Linked DNA regions of Homo sapiens: regions 1, 2 and 3 are each linked to region 4. The links are contacts of gene promoters, found by promoter capture Hi-C in human tissues and cell types (Jung and others, 2019). All regions are on one chromosome and are shown on one strand. Each heading gives the region's core, a stretch centred on a gene start or on the middle of the fragment in contact. The rest is flanking DNA. Distances are from core to core; before and after follow the strand shown. Region 1 holds the start of SLBP (stem-loop histone mRNA binding protein). Region 2 holds the start of ZNF141 (zinc finger protein 141). Region 3 has its middle 68 kb from the start of ZNF732. Region 4 holds the start of IDUA (alpha-L-iduronidase).

Region 1 (3,576 bases), core at 695-3,194, 730 kb after region 4:
ATCAACAGCGTTCAGACCTAAAGGCTTGAGTCATTCTTGATGCCTCTTTCCTGTGTAAACCAAAAAGTGTCTGAGACAGGTCTCAATTGCTTTAGGAATTTAGCTAATGTTAAGGACATACCTAGAAGAACACGAAATTACAGAAAGAGTCTGTGGTCTGTGCCTTTCTCCAGAGATGACTGTCAGGGCTTCAATATTTAAAAGAGAAAAGTAGGTTGAAGGAGAAAGATCTACATGTTCCAAGAGAAAAGGAGCAGGTAGGGGAATAGTCAATTATGTATTCCTAGTGTGCTCAGTAAGTCGCCACTTAAAGTGAACAGAGTTCACCCGTGGAGATATTTAATCTTGTATCTGTAGGTATCTGCTTAGAAAAAAAAAAAGAAACACAAAGGTGGCCGGGCGCGGTGGCTCACACCTGTAATCCCAGCACTTTGGGTGGCCAAGGTGGGTGGATCACTTGAGGTCAGGAGTTCGACACCAGTCTGGTCAACATGGTGAAACCCTGTCTCTACTACAAATACAAAAAGTTAGCCGGGCGCGGTGGCATGCGCCTGTAATCCTAGCTGCTGGGGAGGCTGAGGCAGGAGAATCACTTGAACCCGGGAGGGGGAGGCTGCAGTGAGCCAAGATCGCGTCACCGCACTCCAGCCTGTGAGACAGAGTGAGACCCTGTCTTTAAAAAAAAAAAAAAAAAAAAAAAAGTAACGCAAAGGTAGTTTCTTGCATGATTCCGCGCTCAGCATAATTTTTTCCTTTTGGCACAGTGAAGTTGGGTCCGATTTTTTTTTTTCCTTTCACGCCTCCCATCCCCAACCCATCAGCAAGTCTCACAGGTCCTGCCTTCAGAAGCCTATCCCGAACCACGCATTTCCCTCCACCTTCACTGCTCCATCTCGGCCAAGTCACCACGCCTTTCAGGGAACTCAGGAGCAACAAGCCCCCAGTGCGGGACGAGCCACCCCAAAGCCCCTCGAGAAGTTTTCTCTAACCACAGCCCCGAAAAGCCCCGCCACTACGACCACTGGCACCCCTGCTTATTTCCTCCAGACCCTCCTCGGCCGTCCCACCCCATCAAGCCCTCCTTTCGCTCGCATCTCCACCCTCCCTGCACACTGCCTAACCCAGAAAATGGCCAAGCAGGTAAGCCCTGTCAACTCACTTCTCCTCGGGACTCGGGTGTCCCTGACTTCCACGTGTTCACGAGAAGCTCGTCAGAGACCCTGACCTCTCCCGGGAGCACAACACAGACTCGAACTGGCTAACTCGGGCTGACGCCGGTTCAGCTGACTCCCATCCTGGCAAGAGGCTTCCGGAGTGTTCCAGCGCCTCCCAGGCCTGCTGCGGCCGCCCCAGTCCACGGGCCGCGCGGAGACCAAGATAAAAGGACGCAGGGTGCCGACCTGACCGATCCCGGCACCGCGAGAGCGCGACGAGGTCCCTGGAGCCCGCGGCCTCGTCAAGGGCCCCACCGCGCCCCGACCCCCGGGTCCCGCGCCCACCTCTCGGGTCTGCGCTCGGCGCCGCGGTGCTCTGCCTCCTCGGCGTCTTCGGGCCTCCAGCGCCTGCCGTCGGCTCTGCGCTTCCGTCCCAGGCTCCATCGCGCGGGGGACGGCGGGCTGCGGGGAGGGACGCGGTCGGCTGGGCACGGGAGGTTCGGGACCGCCTTACAACCTCCGCCCTCCCACACCCCGGCCCCGCACAACCCCCGCCCCACGGGGCACGCGCTCCCTCGCCCGCCGCGCAGCCCGGCCTCACCTGGCGTCACCGTCGCAGCGGCTCTGATGCCTCGGCGGGCTTCGCGGGCGGCAGGCCATGGCAGCACGGGCCGGGCGCGCAGCGCAGGGCCGAGGCTGAGGCGGCGGCGGCGCGGGCAGAGAGCGCAGAGTAGAGCAGGGCAGGGCCTGAGGCAGAAACCCGCGTCCCCGCGCCGGCGCTCACGAGCTCTGCGCGCCCCGCCCCCAACCGCCTTTATGTGGGCGCCGGGCCCCGCCCCTCGGCCTCCCGCGCGCGCCGGGTCGGGCGAGACCATCGGGCCACGCCGCAGGGGTCCACTCAGCTGTGCGCGCCTCGCGAGCCGACTGGGGCTAGGGCGAGGCCTCGGGACCGCGGGCAGCCGCGAAGCCCGACTGCCCGGCCCTCGGCTCGGGAGCCAGATGGACGCCGTGGGCTGAGGAGAGGCCTGAGGAAAAGGTTGCCCCCACCCGCGGGATTGAGGCGGCCGGGCCGCCGCGGGCCTCTGCGACGCTGATAGGTCGCGCCTTGGCGGGCGGGGGCAGCTTTGGCGGGAGATTCGGCCGCGCGCGACGCGGCGCAGGTCGTGGGGGAAGGGTAAGCGGCACGTTTCTCGGCCTGGGTCGTGGCGCATCTCCCATTGGTTCCGGCCTGGGTGGAGCGCGGCTCTGCTTGGTTCCTGCCCAGGTGGGGGCGTGTCTCCTCCCTGGCGGGAACCCGGAACCCGGAACCCGGAAGGCGCGGCCTGTGGCGGGTACTGACTGCTTCCCACGGTCCCGTGGCCGCTGCAGGCCCCGTACGCGCCGTCTATTGTTTTGAGCCGCTTAAAGTTTTGGAGTAACCTTTTAGGTCGCAACAGTTGACAACTACACTGAGTCTTTCCGGTCCCACTGCCCTGGCCGTTGACCGCACACCGGCCACCGACTGAGCCGCTAGTTTCGGTTGCCGCTGCCTCCCTGCCCGTCCATGACGTCCTCCACTGTGTCGCCGGTGCATGACGCTCCCACCCTCTGCCTGGAGTTGACTGGGTTTGTATCCTGAAGAATCCCTGGCTCAGCAGGTAGGTTCCACCTGGAGGCGAGGTCCTGTAGATCCGCACCATCCCGTCCCGCTTCCCCGCCGTCACAGTTGCAGCTGACGGCCCCGCGGATCCAGCCAACTAGAACCCCAACGGGTGCACTACACCTGAGAACAGGTTCCCACAGCTTCCTGTTGGGGACAACGTGAGGGATGCAGGGGAGAGTGGAACCAGCCAAAAGAGTGGGCAGTGGGGTCAGGTCCAGGAGGCTGAGCCCCAGGGATGCTTGGGATCCCTCTAAGGCCTTACACCTCTGGGAGGGCCGGACTTTTGCACCTGCTGCCCTCAGGACTGTGCCTTGGTGCGTCCACCGCCCCCTTTTGAACTCAAAAAAGTCATCCTCAGACTAGGACGGACACATCCTGTCCCCTTCCTCCCCAGGCCCTGGGCATCCCATAACCCTCAACACTGTAAACTAAAAATAAAATCCTGGCAGGGCGCGGTGGCTCATGCCTGTAATTCCAACACTTTGGGAGGCCGAGGCGGGAGGATCATCTGAGGTTGGGAGTTCGAGACTAGCCTGACCAACATGGAGAAACCCTGTCTCTACTAAAAATACAAAATTAGCCTGGCATGGTGACGCATGCTTGTAATCCCAGCTACTCGGGTGGCTGAGGCAGGAGAATTGTTTGAACCCGGGAGGCAGTGGGCTAAGATTGCACCACTGTACTCCAACCTGGGCAACAAGAGCAGAACTCTGTCTCAAAAAAAATTAAAATCCTAAGCCCCCAACAACTGAATGGACCCCCTTGCGGTCAAGGGGACAC
Region 2 (3,718 bases), core at 126-2,625, 650 kb before region 4:
TCCCCAGGCCCTGCAGCGCCATGAGGTCGGACTCCTGGGCGTGTCCTGGGTTCTGACCCACCCGCGACGCCAGCTGCCCGCGCCCGGAGCGGATGGGCCTGGCCCGGCTCCACCCCGCGGGGCTCCGCGGCTCAACGGGTCGCCCAGGGGCGCGGGCCCGGCTTCGTCCTCGACGGTGTCCGCCCCGGCCCTGGCTAGGCCGACGGCAGCCGGGTCCGGGTGGGGCTCGGGCTCGGGGCGCGCCCCTCCCATCTCTCCAGGGTCCGCGTCCTCGCTGCCGCCAGGTCCCGCCGAGATCCCCGGTGGCCCCGGCTCCAGCGGCTGCAGCGTCGCCATCGCCGGGCAGACCCCGGCCGACCTCAAAGCGACCGCGCGGTGGGGCCGGCGGGGACTGGGGCTGCGCAGCGCGGCCTGGGGTGGGGGCGGCGGGGCCCCCAGGAGCTCCTGGGAACCGAGGGTCCTGGGGCGGTCCCGCCCCGCACAGCTCCGGGTGAGCTTGGGGAGGGAGACACACTCTCAGCCCACCTCGCCCCGCCCGACAGCGCTCCGAGTCCTGAGTCCCCTCACCCCCATTCTACAGACACGAAGGTGAAGCCAAAGACGGGACGCTCACTTCCTGAGAATTTGCTGCCTGCTGCGTGGACACCACCGACCTATTGTTTACAGCGGTCAGGGACCCGCCCCCCAGACCCCCAGGACCGCGCTTCCGGGGGAGGAGGGTGTCCTCAGCAACGGTGACCCGCACCAAAGCCCTCCTCACCGGGGTCACCGCCACAGCCGGTGCGAGGCCCGCAGGGCGCTGGGGATGCGCGACCGACTCCCGTGAACCTGCTCCTCGCGCGTCAGGGAGAGCTGTGCACCCAACTAGGCTCTGTGAGGACGGACTGAGGTCGGCCTGCAGGCTGCGGCCCCGAAGGCAGGATTTGTGGAGAGATGATTCGCGAGCCTTGGAGGAAGGATGGGCTGTGCGTGCGTGGGTGCGTGCGTGTGTGTGTGTGTGTGTCTGTGACTTTTGTATGTTTATGTGAGACTGCGTACGTGCGCGCGTCTGTGTGTGCGCGCGCGCGTATATGTCTGTGTGTGTGCGTGCGTGTATAATTTCTAAATGGACGTCACCTTACACATCACAAGGTTAAAAAATGACCCCTGGGCTGTGCCAGGCCAAGCACGAAGAGAAAGCCCCGCCTGAAACTGCCTGGAGGCCCCCCGGCTGTCACTCTCGCCACATTCCGTGGAGTATGTGGTTGCAACTTCTGTCACTCAAGGTCTGATGGCGGGGAGATTGGAGCCGTATCCAATCAGCGCACTGGAGTGAAAACTGCCCAATCAGGCACGCAGCCAGAGAGGAGGCGGTGGCTTCCGGGATGTGGCGCGGGTCTTTGCGTCTGGCTACTACCAGACCGCGGGTTAGGGGCTTCATCTCTCTGCGTTCTCAGTTGTGGGAGGCCTTGGTGATTCGGCCACAGCTCAGCCTCCGTCGCTCTGTGACCTGCGGGTATTGGATGATTGGTAGCTAAGACTCCCGAATACTTCAGAAGTGGGGAAATGGTGAGTGTGCGGGGCAGGGCGTCCCAAGGCTGAGGAGGTCTCATCGGAGCTGGCGGGAAATGGCGGCGGGACCGAGTCTGCGAACGGAGTCCCCGCTGCCGCCGCTCAGCCCTGGGGCCTCAGTACCCTCCGGTGAGGGACCTGGGCTCCTGTCGGTCCCCGCACAGCGGCTCTGGCCCAGCCTGCAGCCCTCCTTGTGCAGCTCTGCGCCCGCAGCCCCGCACCTTCCCCAGGCTGTGGGGTGAGGAGTAGCTTATCTGGAAGCCGCCCGCGCGGCGTGCGCGATGCCGGCGTGGGAGGAGCTGTGGGAGAAGCTGTGGTCTGGGGATCCCGTCCCTGCTTTACCCTGTTCGGAATGAGATCGAGGCCCCATCAAAACAGAGTTCATGTGAGCAAATGGGGACTCATTAATGGGACAGCGCCGGCCGTGGCTCGTGGTTTGGGGGCTGCCAGCGGGTCTTGAAGGAAAAGCTTTTGTGAGGTGTGTGAGGAAGCGAAGCAAATCACCCGCCCGCTCCAACTTGCCCACCAGTCTCCTTGCCCTGTGCGCCTCCTCCGCGTGGCTGTTCCTGAGTGGCATCTTTTAGAATACGCTAGTGTGGGCGCGCACAGCGCTTCGCTGAGTTCTGTGAGTAGTTCTGTCATATTATTGAACTTGAGGAGGGTGTGGGCCCCTGGTTTGTAGACAGGTGTTCAGAAATGAAGACGGGTGTCCAGAGGCAGGGACTGGCGTCTGCAGGGGGGCAGCTGCGGGAAGAGCGCTGAGCTTGTGGGGTCTGTGCTGACTCCGGGTGGTGTCGTTAGTGAGTTGTTGGACAGCCCGTTGGGGTCGGAGCATTGACTGGTGTTGAGCAAACTCCTCACGTTTCCTGTCAGAAGAAAGACATGGCTGAGCCTGGGCTGGAGGGAGTCGCAGGTGTCCGCGGGAGACCAGCCGGGTTCTGCACATGCACTGTCCTGCTGCGCACTGTTCTGTTCCTCCAGGTCTCCTCCCGGGGAGAGAGGGCGCTGAGAACTTGGAGGAAAGGAGTTCTGAGAAACATCCCTTCCCTGCACCCTGCTGCCAGCCCCCACCCAATGCTAACCCACTCCTGAGCCCGCCCATTGGGCATTCGCACGGCCACACTTGTCCCAGGACAGGGTTCTACCCTCAGGAATTGTGCCCATGGCAGCTTTGCTCCTAGGTTTTTCTCCCAAGAACACACACAGTGCCCAGAAGACTCCTGGTTCATTTTAACCCCAGATCTGTAGCAGGAATCTGTTTTCTTCACCCACCCAGGCTTTTGGACCACCTGATCCTAATCTCCTCTGCCTTTATGGGCTCAGGAATCAGTTAGAGCTTAGCCCTGCCTGGGCCTGAACTTGTAGCACAAACCAGTCCTTTCGTCAATCCTGCCTTGCCCCCACTCAAGGCTCTTGATAGCACCTTTCTTCTGCTCTTTTCTTCCCCACAAATCCTCTTTCCTGTGCACACAGTTTGCTCAAGTGCATCCCTCATGTGCTACAAGAATTCAACGTTAGTGAGTTCAAGACCATGCCTTTAGACCTGCCTGTTGTAGGACCAAATACAAATCAGAAGAGGCTTAATGCTTTCTCTTTAGAATGAGGAAAGAATTTTTACTCTTCTCCCTTAAAGCATTTAGTTTGAAAACTTTTATATTTAAATATTTTCTCTGCTTCTTTGAAATATATATAACTCATTTTAATCTGTTAACTAGGTGATTTGTCTTTTTTGACTCAAAATTGTCTTTAGGACATGGAAACTATTGCTTTGAAATGTGCATAGCAAGAATATATAACCTATTCCGCAATTTCTGTAGCAGAGTAGGAGGCTGCCTTCAGCAGGTACCTGCCTTCACATATCAAATCTACCTCCTGTCCTGAAGCTGTGGGAAGTTTATTTTCCCTTTGAATATTACCAATTAGGAAACCCGGATGACCTCCCAAATTACTAGGTGAAAGTGTAATAAACTATGTATGATACATGGTACTGTCAAGTCTTCTACTTGAGAGCTAATTATGGTGACTTTCTTTGTTTTGGCAGTCTCTTAGTAGACTGCCTGTAATGCACACCACATTTTGTTTAATTCTCTAACAACACATTTTCTTGCTGTTCTATTATTTTGGACAGTATTTTAGGATTGTAGATGATTTTGCTGTTATATTTTCC
Region 3 (3,488 bases), core at 910-3,409, 750 kb before region 4:
GAGAATGTTCCATGTGTGTTTGAGAAGAATATAAATTATACTGTTGGATGAAATGTTCTATACACGTCTGTTAGGTGCAGTTTTATAGTGCAATGCAAGTACATTGTTTTTTCACTAGCTTTCTGTCTGACTCATGTATTAAGTAGGGCAGTAAAGTCCCCTATTATATCTGTCTGTTTCTTTCTCCAGTTTTGTTAATATATGTTTATATATTTATGTGCTCCAATGTTTGGTACATATATATATTTAATTATGTTTTGACAAATTAGGCTCATCACAATACAATAAAATTCTTTTTTTCTGATAGATTTTTTTCTAGAAGTCTATTTAGTGTGATGTAATTATAGCCACTCCTACACTCTTTTAGTTATTATTGGCATAGAATATTCTTTTTCATCCTTGTACCATTAACCTATGTACGTCCTTAAACCTAAAATAAGTCTCTTGTGCACAGCATATTGTTGACTTTTTAAATCTATTCAGACATTTTGTGAATGTTTCCTTTTTTTTTTTTTTTTTTTTGCTTCAATAACAGAATATCCCAGAGTTCGTAATTCATAAAGAATAGAATTTACTTAGCTCAGACTCCTGGATGCCAAGAAGTCCAAGAGCATGTCATTCCCATCTGATGAGAATCACATTTCCACATCACAACATGACCAAAGGGTTGAGGATGACAGAAGGTGTACACCAGTGCTCACTTTTATAATAGACCCACTCTCATGATGACTAATACACTGTGGTAATACTGATACTAATCCTTTCATGACAGTAGAGTGCTCATGACCTAATAACTCTTAAGGGCCTCATTTCTTAATTTTCTCACAATGTCAGTTAAATTTTAACATGAATTTTGGAGGGGACGCTCAAACTATAGCAATGTGTTTTTATTGGATAACTAAATCTTTATATATTTAAATGAATTACTGATTGATAAGAACTTACTGCCATTTTCTTACTGTTTTCTGACCATTTAGTAGTTTGTTTTTTCATTGTTTCATGCTGTCTTCCCCTGTATTTTCTTGAATTTTTGTTGTTTTTGTTGTTATATGCATTCTTTTTCTTTTGTGTGTAACCACTACAGTTTTTTTTGTAATTTCCAGGAAGCTTATGTAAAACATCTCATAGTTATAAAATCTAATTTCAGATAAGAATTTAGCTTTTGGTTTGTATAGATAGGGTCTTGCTTTGTTACCCAGTGTAGTGCAGTGGTACATTCATAGCTCAGTGCAGACTTGACCTCCCCAGGCTCAAGCAATCCTCAGCCTCCCAAGTAGCTGGGACTACAAGCACATGCCACCATGTCTGGCTAATTTTTTTAGTATTTTTTGTAGAGACAGGGTTTTGCCAAGTTGCTCAGGCTGGTGTTGAACTCCCGGGCTCAAGCAGTCCACCTGCCTTGGACTCCCAAAGTGCTAGTATTACAGGCATGAGCCATCAGGCCCAGCTGCTTCTTTTTTTAAAAGACTAAATAGCTTTCTGAGATCTTTATTTAATTTTATTTATGTACTTATTTAAGAGACAGGGTCCTGCTATATTGACCAGACTAGTTTTGAACTCCTGGCCTCAAGCAAAAGTTAGCTTCTATGTATAGAAAAATTAAACAATTTTACTCCCTTCAACATAGTATTTATGTCACACTCTACATCTTTTTATATCGTATACCCTTTAACAAATTATTGAAGCTATATGTAGTCTTAATAATTTTTTCTTGTAGCTTTTATACCAGAGTTAAATGTGATTAATTCATTCACCATAATTAGTTTTATAGCCTTCTAAATTCGACTATGTATATATGATTTTCAGTAAGATTTATAATTTTGTTGTAAGTTTGGATTCCATTACAACTTAAATTCTCATTAGCATTTGTTGTAAGTCAGGTCTAGTGATTAAAACTTTCAACTTTTTTTTAATCTGAGAAGATTTTGATACTTCATTTCTAAAGAACAGCTCTGTCAGGTATCGTCTTCTTAGTTGTCAAGGTTTTTTCTTTTTCTTCCTTCATTTGCATTTTAAATATATGGTTTCACTCCTGTGTGGCTTGCATGGTTTTTGCTGGGCAATCTGCTGATAACCTTATAGGAGTTCCCTTGAATGTGAAGAATCTCTTTTCTCTTGCTTTTTTTTTTTTTTTTTTACTTTTTACTCTTTATTTTAGGTTTTGCAGGCAAACCCCAGGTAAAGGGTTTTCTTTTTTTAATTTTAATTTTTGTGAGTATGTAGGACATGTATATATTTGTGTGGCACATGAGATGTCTTGATCCAGGCATGTAATGTGTAACAATCACATAATCAAAAATGGGGTATATCCATCCCCTCAAGCATTTATAATTTGGGTTATAAACAATCCAATTATGCTCTTTTAGTTATTTTAAAATGTGCAACTAAATTATTATACTCATACTGGGTATTACTCATTCTTTCTTTTTTTTTTCTTTTTTGTTTGTCTTTGAATTTTGGCAGTTTAATTATAATGTGTTCTGGACAATTTCTGTTAGATTCTTCTTGCTATAGACATTTTGAGCTTTTAAATTTAATATCTATATTCCTTCCAAGATTGGGAAGAATTTAAGACATTATATCTTTAAACAATTTAAAAATTTTTTTCTTTCTCATGAACCTCCTAAAATTGTACATCCTTACCATTGATTATGAAATATGGGGGACAAATGCTTTATTCACTCGCATTCTTTTTTTAAATTCTAACTAGGAACTTTCAAATAACTTTTACATTTGCTGATTTTTTTTTTCCTGTATAACGGAGTCTCCTGTTAAAGCTTTCTCTTAAATATTTTAGATCTCCTATTGTGTACTTCAGCTCCAGCATATCTAACTGGTTCTGTTTTAATGGTTTCTCTTTATTATAATTGTGATTCTGTTCATACGTTGTTGCAAAAAAAATTTAGTAATGTGTGGTTTTTTTGCATCTCATTGAGATTCTTTAAGATAATTATTTTGAATTCTTAGCCATTTTTTAGATCTGTGTTTTACTGTAAGTGGTTACTAGAGAATTTTTAGTTTCTTTTGGTGGTGTTACATTTGCCTGATCTTTCATGGTCTGTGATGCCTTGTTTTTATGTCCTTGCATCTGAAGGAGTAAATATCTCTTGCAGTCATTATAGATTAGTTTGGGGTGGTAAATATTTTCTCCTATTGGATCTCTGTGCTGATGAGATTTCCAGTGAGTTTGCAGTAAGGTGCATTGGATCTGGATCACAGTGAAGTTCATGCTTGGCAGACCTGTTATTAGGGCATCAGACTGTTGTGGATTCTGTCTATTTTCTAGGAAGACTGAACTTTCTTCAGGATCTTGATCAGTAAGACTGGTGCTGAGAAAAAAAAGTCTCCAGTTGTATATGCAGATGACAGAGCTGATATAATCCATGTGAGCAGGTATGGCTTCTGCTGTGTGGCTCTTGCTGGGTTTTTAGAAATCTTCTAACCCAGTCATTGGACAGATTCCTAGATGAGAAGTACTGACCCTTGGT
Region 4 (3,588 bases), core at 664-3,163:
TTAGGGGATAGAACTTTGGGGTCCCAAGAAAAACCCAAAGTCTTTACCAGGCCCCCCGCCTGAGCCTCGACTTCTGTCCTGTGGCCACAGTGTGAGGAACGAACGCAGCAGCGTGTCGCCATGTCTTGTGTGGCTGGGATACGCTGCAGGGGTGTGGAGTCGCCGCCCCAAAGCGGGCCCCGCCCCCTCCCGGCTTGTCCCTGCAGAGCCCCGAGGCCTCAGAGGCTCCTCAGAGCTCCCAGTGCCCTGGACGGTTCCGTTCAGCGCTCTCCAGTTCTGATGGTTGCTCTCAGGAGGCGGCTGGTCTGAAACAATTCAGTTTCCATTGCTGTGTCCTGCACCACGGTGTGGGACTGGTGGTTTCTTACTGTTTTTCTCAGTTCTCTGACGCTTTGAGGAATTGTTTTTAAAGCGAGTTATCCATCATTTTAGTTGTTTTCTCTGGGGTCGTTGGACTGAGGGTCTTACCCCGCTGTTCCTGGAGACAGTTCTGTACTTGCATGGTTTCTCTCGCCTTTCCCTCCCTTTCTTACTTTTTAGTTTCTTAATGAATTTTTTTGTATTATGTTTTTCCTCCTTGCTAATTTGGAATATATACACACTATTTCACTTTTAAATGGCTAATCACTTTTAATGCAATTTCAACATAAGAAGACCTAATGTTAAGCAATATTTTAACCCCTCTCCCCAAAATAAAAAGACCCAGAACACTGTAACTCTAATTATCCTTCTCCCAACTTAGAGAGGATTATTGTCCAGTATTTTCGTTTTGTTAGTAGACTGTTCTTTTTTTCTTTTCTTTTTTTAGAGATGGGGTCTCATTTTGTCAACCAGGCTGGAATGTAGTGGTGTGATCATGGCCCGTCTCAGCCTTGAACTCCTAAGCTCAAGCAATCTCCCACCTCAATTTCGTGGGTAGCTGGGCCTCACAGGCATATACCATCGCATCTGGCTAAATTTTTTTTTTGTACAGATGGGGTCTTGGTACATCTCCCAGGCCGATTTCAAACTCCAGGCCTCAAGTGATCCTCCCGTGTTGGCCTGCAATTCCAAAGTGCTGGGATTGCAGGTGTGAGCCACCGCACCAAGCCTGTTCTTTCCATTATTATTTTTATACAATGTTTGCTTGGATTCACACATGCATACATGGACTACACATGTACTACAGTTGTCCCATGGTATCCTCGGGGTATTGGTTCCAGGACCCTCCCAGATACCAAAATTTGCAGGTGCTCAAGTACTTGATATAAAATGGCACAGTATTTGCACATTACCTACGCACATCCTACTGTGTAGTTTAAATCAAGATTACTTATAGTCCCTAAAACAATGTAAATGCTCTGTAAATAGCTGTTATACTGTATTGTTTTAAAATATGTATTATTTCGTATTGCTTTGGCTTTAAAACAATATTTTCAGTCTGCTTGGTTGAATCCATGGATCTGAAGCCAAGTGTAAGGAGGGCCCAGTGTGCTCTTCTGGGGTAATTCTCCTTCCTGCTAAAGCGCACGCTTTACTCAGGAGGCTGGGGTGAGAAAATCGCTGAAGCCCCGGAGATGGAGGTTGCAGTGAGCTGAGATCGCGCCACTGCACCTCAGCCTGGGCGACAAAGCAAGACTCTGTCTCAAAAACACACAAAAACAGAGAAAAACAAGACAGTAATGGCTCAACTCACATAGCACCAACGGGCGAAGCGTTCTTCTGAGCGCTTTCCGAGTCATCGGTCCTCAGAGCAGCCCCTGAGGCCCGCAAGGAAGCGGGGCTCCAAGCCCTGCCGTGCTCCCGGCTCCCCGAGGCTCCCCGAGGCCACCCAACCCCTCCCACCCGGCCATCGCCCCCTCACCAAGGCCCCGCCCCGCGGCGGCGGTCACATGGGGTGCGCGCCCAGACTCCGACCCGGAGGCGGAACCGGCAGTGCAGCCCGAAGCCCCGCAGTCCCCGAGCACGCGTGGCCATGCGTCCCCTGCGCCCCCGCGCCGCGCTGCTGGCGCTCCTGGCCTCGCTCCTGGCCGCGCCCCCGGTGGCCCCGGCCGAGGCCCCGCACCTGGTGCATGTGGACGCGGCCCGCGCGCTGTGGCCCCTGCGGCGCTTCTGGAGGAGCACAGGCTTCTGGTGAGCGCTCCGCGGCCTCCGGGACCCCCTGGCCGCACGGGGAGAGCTCGGGCGCCCCCTGACTGCGCACTGTGAGAGCTTCAGAGACCGGAGCTCCCTCCTCTGGGGCCCTGGCTCTCCCGGGCCCGCCCCCCGCCGTGTTTGTGGGTGGGTCCTCCACCTGAGTGGGCGCCGGGGCGTGAGCCTGGGCCGCCCCCTGCAGCCCAGGCCGATGCCCGGGATCCTGCTCTTTGAGGTAAACCAGGAGTCTCCCCTGGGAGTGGACGGCCCTGCAGCGGGACCTGGCCTGCCTGTCCCATTCCTTCCACCTAGAGCTGAGGTACCCGCCTTCCTGGCAGGGCCAGGGCCAGGGCTGGCGTTGGCCCCTCGTCTTACTGCTGCTGCCGTTCCCCATGAAGATGGGACCTCCCCACATTCCTGGCCCTAAGGGTCATTTTATTAGTCACTGAACGCACGGGCAGCGCCTGGATCCTGCGCCCGGGCAGTCCTGGGCTTGAACGTGTGTGTCAGCCGCGCTGCCAGCCATGCTGAGGCTCGGGACTGAGCCGCCCCTTTGTTGTCCCCAGCCCCCCGCTGCCACACAGCCAGGCTGACCAGTACGTCCTCAGCTGGGACCAGCAGCTCAACCTCGCCTATGTGGGCGCCGTCCCTCACCGCGGCATCAAGCAGGTCCGGACCCACTGGCTGCTGGAGCTTGTCACCACCAGGTGGGCGGCGGGCAGGGTCTGGGCGTCCCAGAGCCCCTTACAGAGGCACAGATGGGAGGGGAGGGCTGGGGGCTGCTCGGAAGACCCCTTGTTCCCCCACCTCCCGCCGAAGCACCCTGTTGGGGAGAGCGTGTCCTTGCTGGCTGTGCTGGGGTGAGGGCTGTGTGCTGGAGGGAGCCCCTGCATGGGGCACGGTGGGCTTCCTGCAGGTCTCCCTGCAGGCTCAGGGTTGGCTGCGCCGCACCTGGCTCCTGGTGCACCCGTGAGCATCCCTGTGTGTGTCTGCTGGCCAGGCTGGGTAGGGCCACTGCACCTGAGGGCTGAGCTGAGGTCTCATCGGTCACAGCACCCTGGGCCCTGACGCTGGTGCAGGTGGCCACCCTGTGAGGGGGAGGCACGAGGTGTGAGGGGCACTTGGGTGTGTGGGGCCTTCTGGAAACACAGAGACCCTCGTGCACTTGGCCAGAGCCGCTGGCTCCTACCAGCAGGGTGGGCACCGGGCAGGCCTGGGCATAGGGAGTCCTCTTGGCACCTTGGAGGCTGCATGATGGCGGGGGACCCTTGTTCAAATAAGATGTCAACCCTGAGCGTCAGGTCAGGCCCATCCCTCCTGAGCTGAGGGACGGTGCATTGGGGCCCAGCCAGCACTGTGGGCCAGCCTGTCTCGGAGGCAGAGGTTCTTGATTTCTGAGTGTTTGGGTCCTGCGTGTGATCAGAGGGCCTCCTTTCCCAGTTGGGGTTCCCCGGTTTCCCCAGGGCAGCTGTGGCA

What was found. The method cuts DNA at HindIII sites, captures the fragments that hold promoters and counts their contacts. A contact is called where the count stands out against the background at its distance.
Region 1: the fragment with the promoter of SLBP here is called in contact with the fragment with the promoter of IDUA in region 4 in 1 of the 25 tissues and cell types used here (dorsolateral prefrontal cortex).
Region 2: the fragment with the promoter of ZNF141 here is called in contact with the fragment with the promoter of IDUA in region 4 in 1 of the 25 tissues and cell types used here (lymphoblastoid cells).
Region 3: a fragment that was not itself captured here is called in contact with the fragment with the promoter of IDUA in region 4 in 1 of the 25 tissues and cell types used here (lymphoblastoid cells).

Annotation. Positions count from the first base shown.
Region 1 is chr4:1,710,375-1,713,950 of GRCh38, forward strand. It overlaps SLBP (stem-loop histone mRNA binding protein), which reads right to left and starts at 1,945. Exons shown (of 8, transcript NM_006527.4): 1 at 1,756-1,945; 2 at 1,500-1,616. The coding sequence starts at 1,814. RefSeq lists silencers at 1,322-1,441, 1,452-2,361 and an enhancer at 2,492-2,781. The HindIII fragment of the contact is 8,102 bases long and covers 1-3,173 here.
Region 2 is chr4:336,439-340,156 of GRCh38, forward strand. It overlaps ZNF141 (zinc finger protein 141), which reads left to right and starts at 1,376. Exons shown (of 4, transcript NM_003441.4): 1 at 1,376-1,548. The coding sequence starts at 1,546. RefSeq lists silencers at 86-145, 376-485 and enhancers at 500-1,015, 1,121-2,081, 1,126-1,225. The HindIII fragment of the contact is 20,671 bases long and covers 1-3,288 here.
Region 3 is chr4:235,514-239,001 of GRCh38, forward strand. It overlaps the pseudogene ZNF876P. Among named protein-coding and RNA genes, the nearest start is that of ZNF732, 68 kb to the right of the region's middle. The HindIII fragment of the contact is 5,262 bases long and covers 1-3,488 here.
Region 4 is chr4:985,131-988,718 of GRCh38, forward strand. It overlaps IDUA (alpha-L-iduronidase), which reads left to right and starts at 1,914. Exons shown (of 14, transcript NM_000203.5): 1 at 1,914-2,112; 2 at 2,679-2,819. The coding sequence starts at 1,955. It overlaps SLC26A1 (solute carrier family 26 member 1), which reads right to left. Exons shown (of 3, transcript NM_022042.4): 3 at 2,527-3,588. RefSeq lists enhancers at 276-325, 1,501-1,560 and silencers at 1,771-2,420, 2,203-2,380. The HindIII fragment of the contact is 27,782 bases long and covers 1-3,588 here.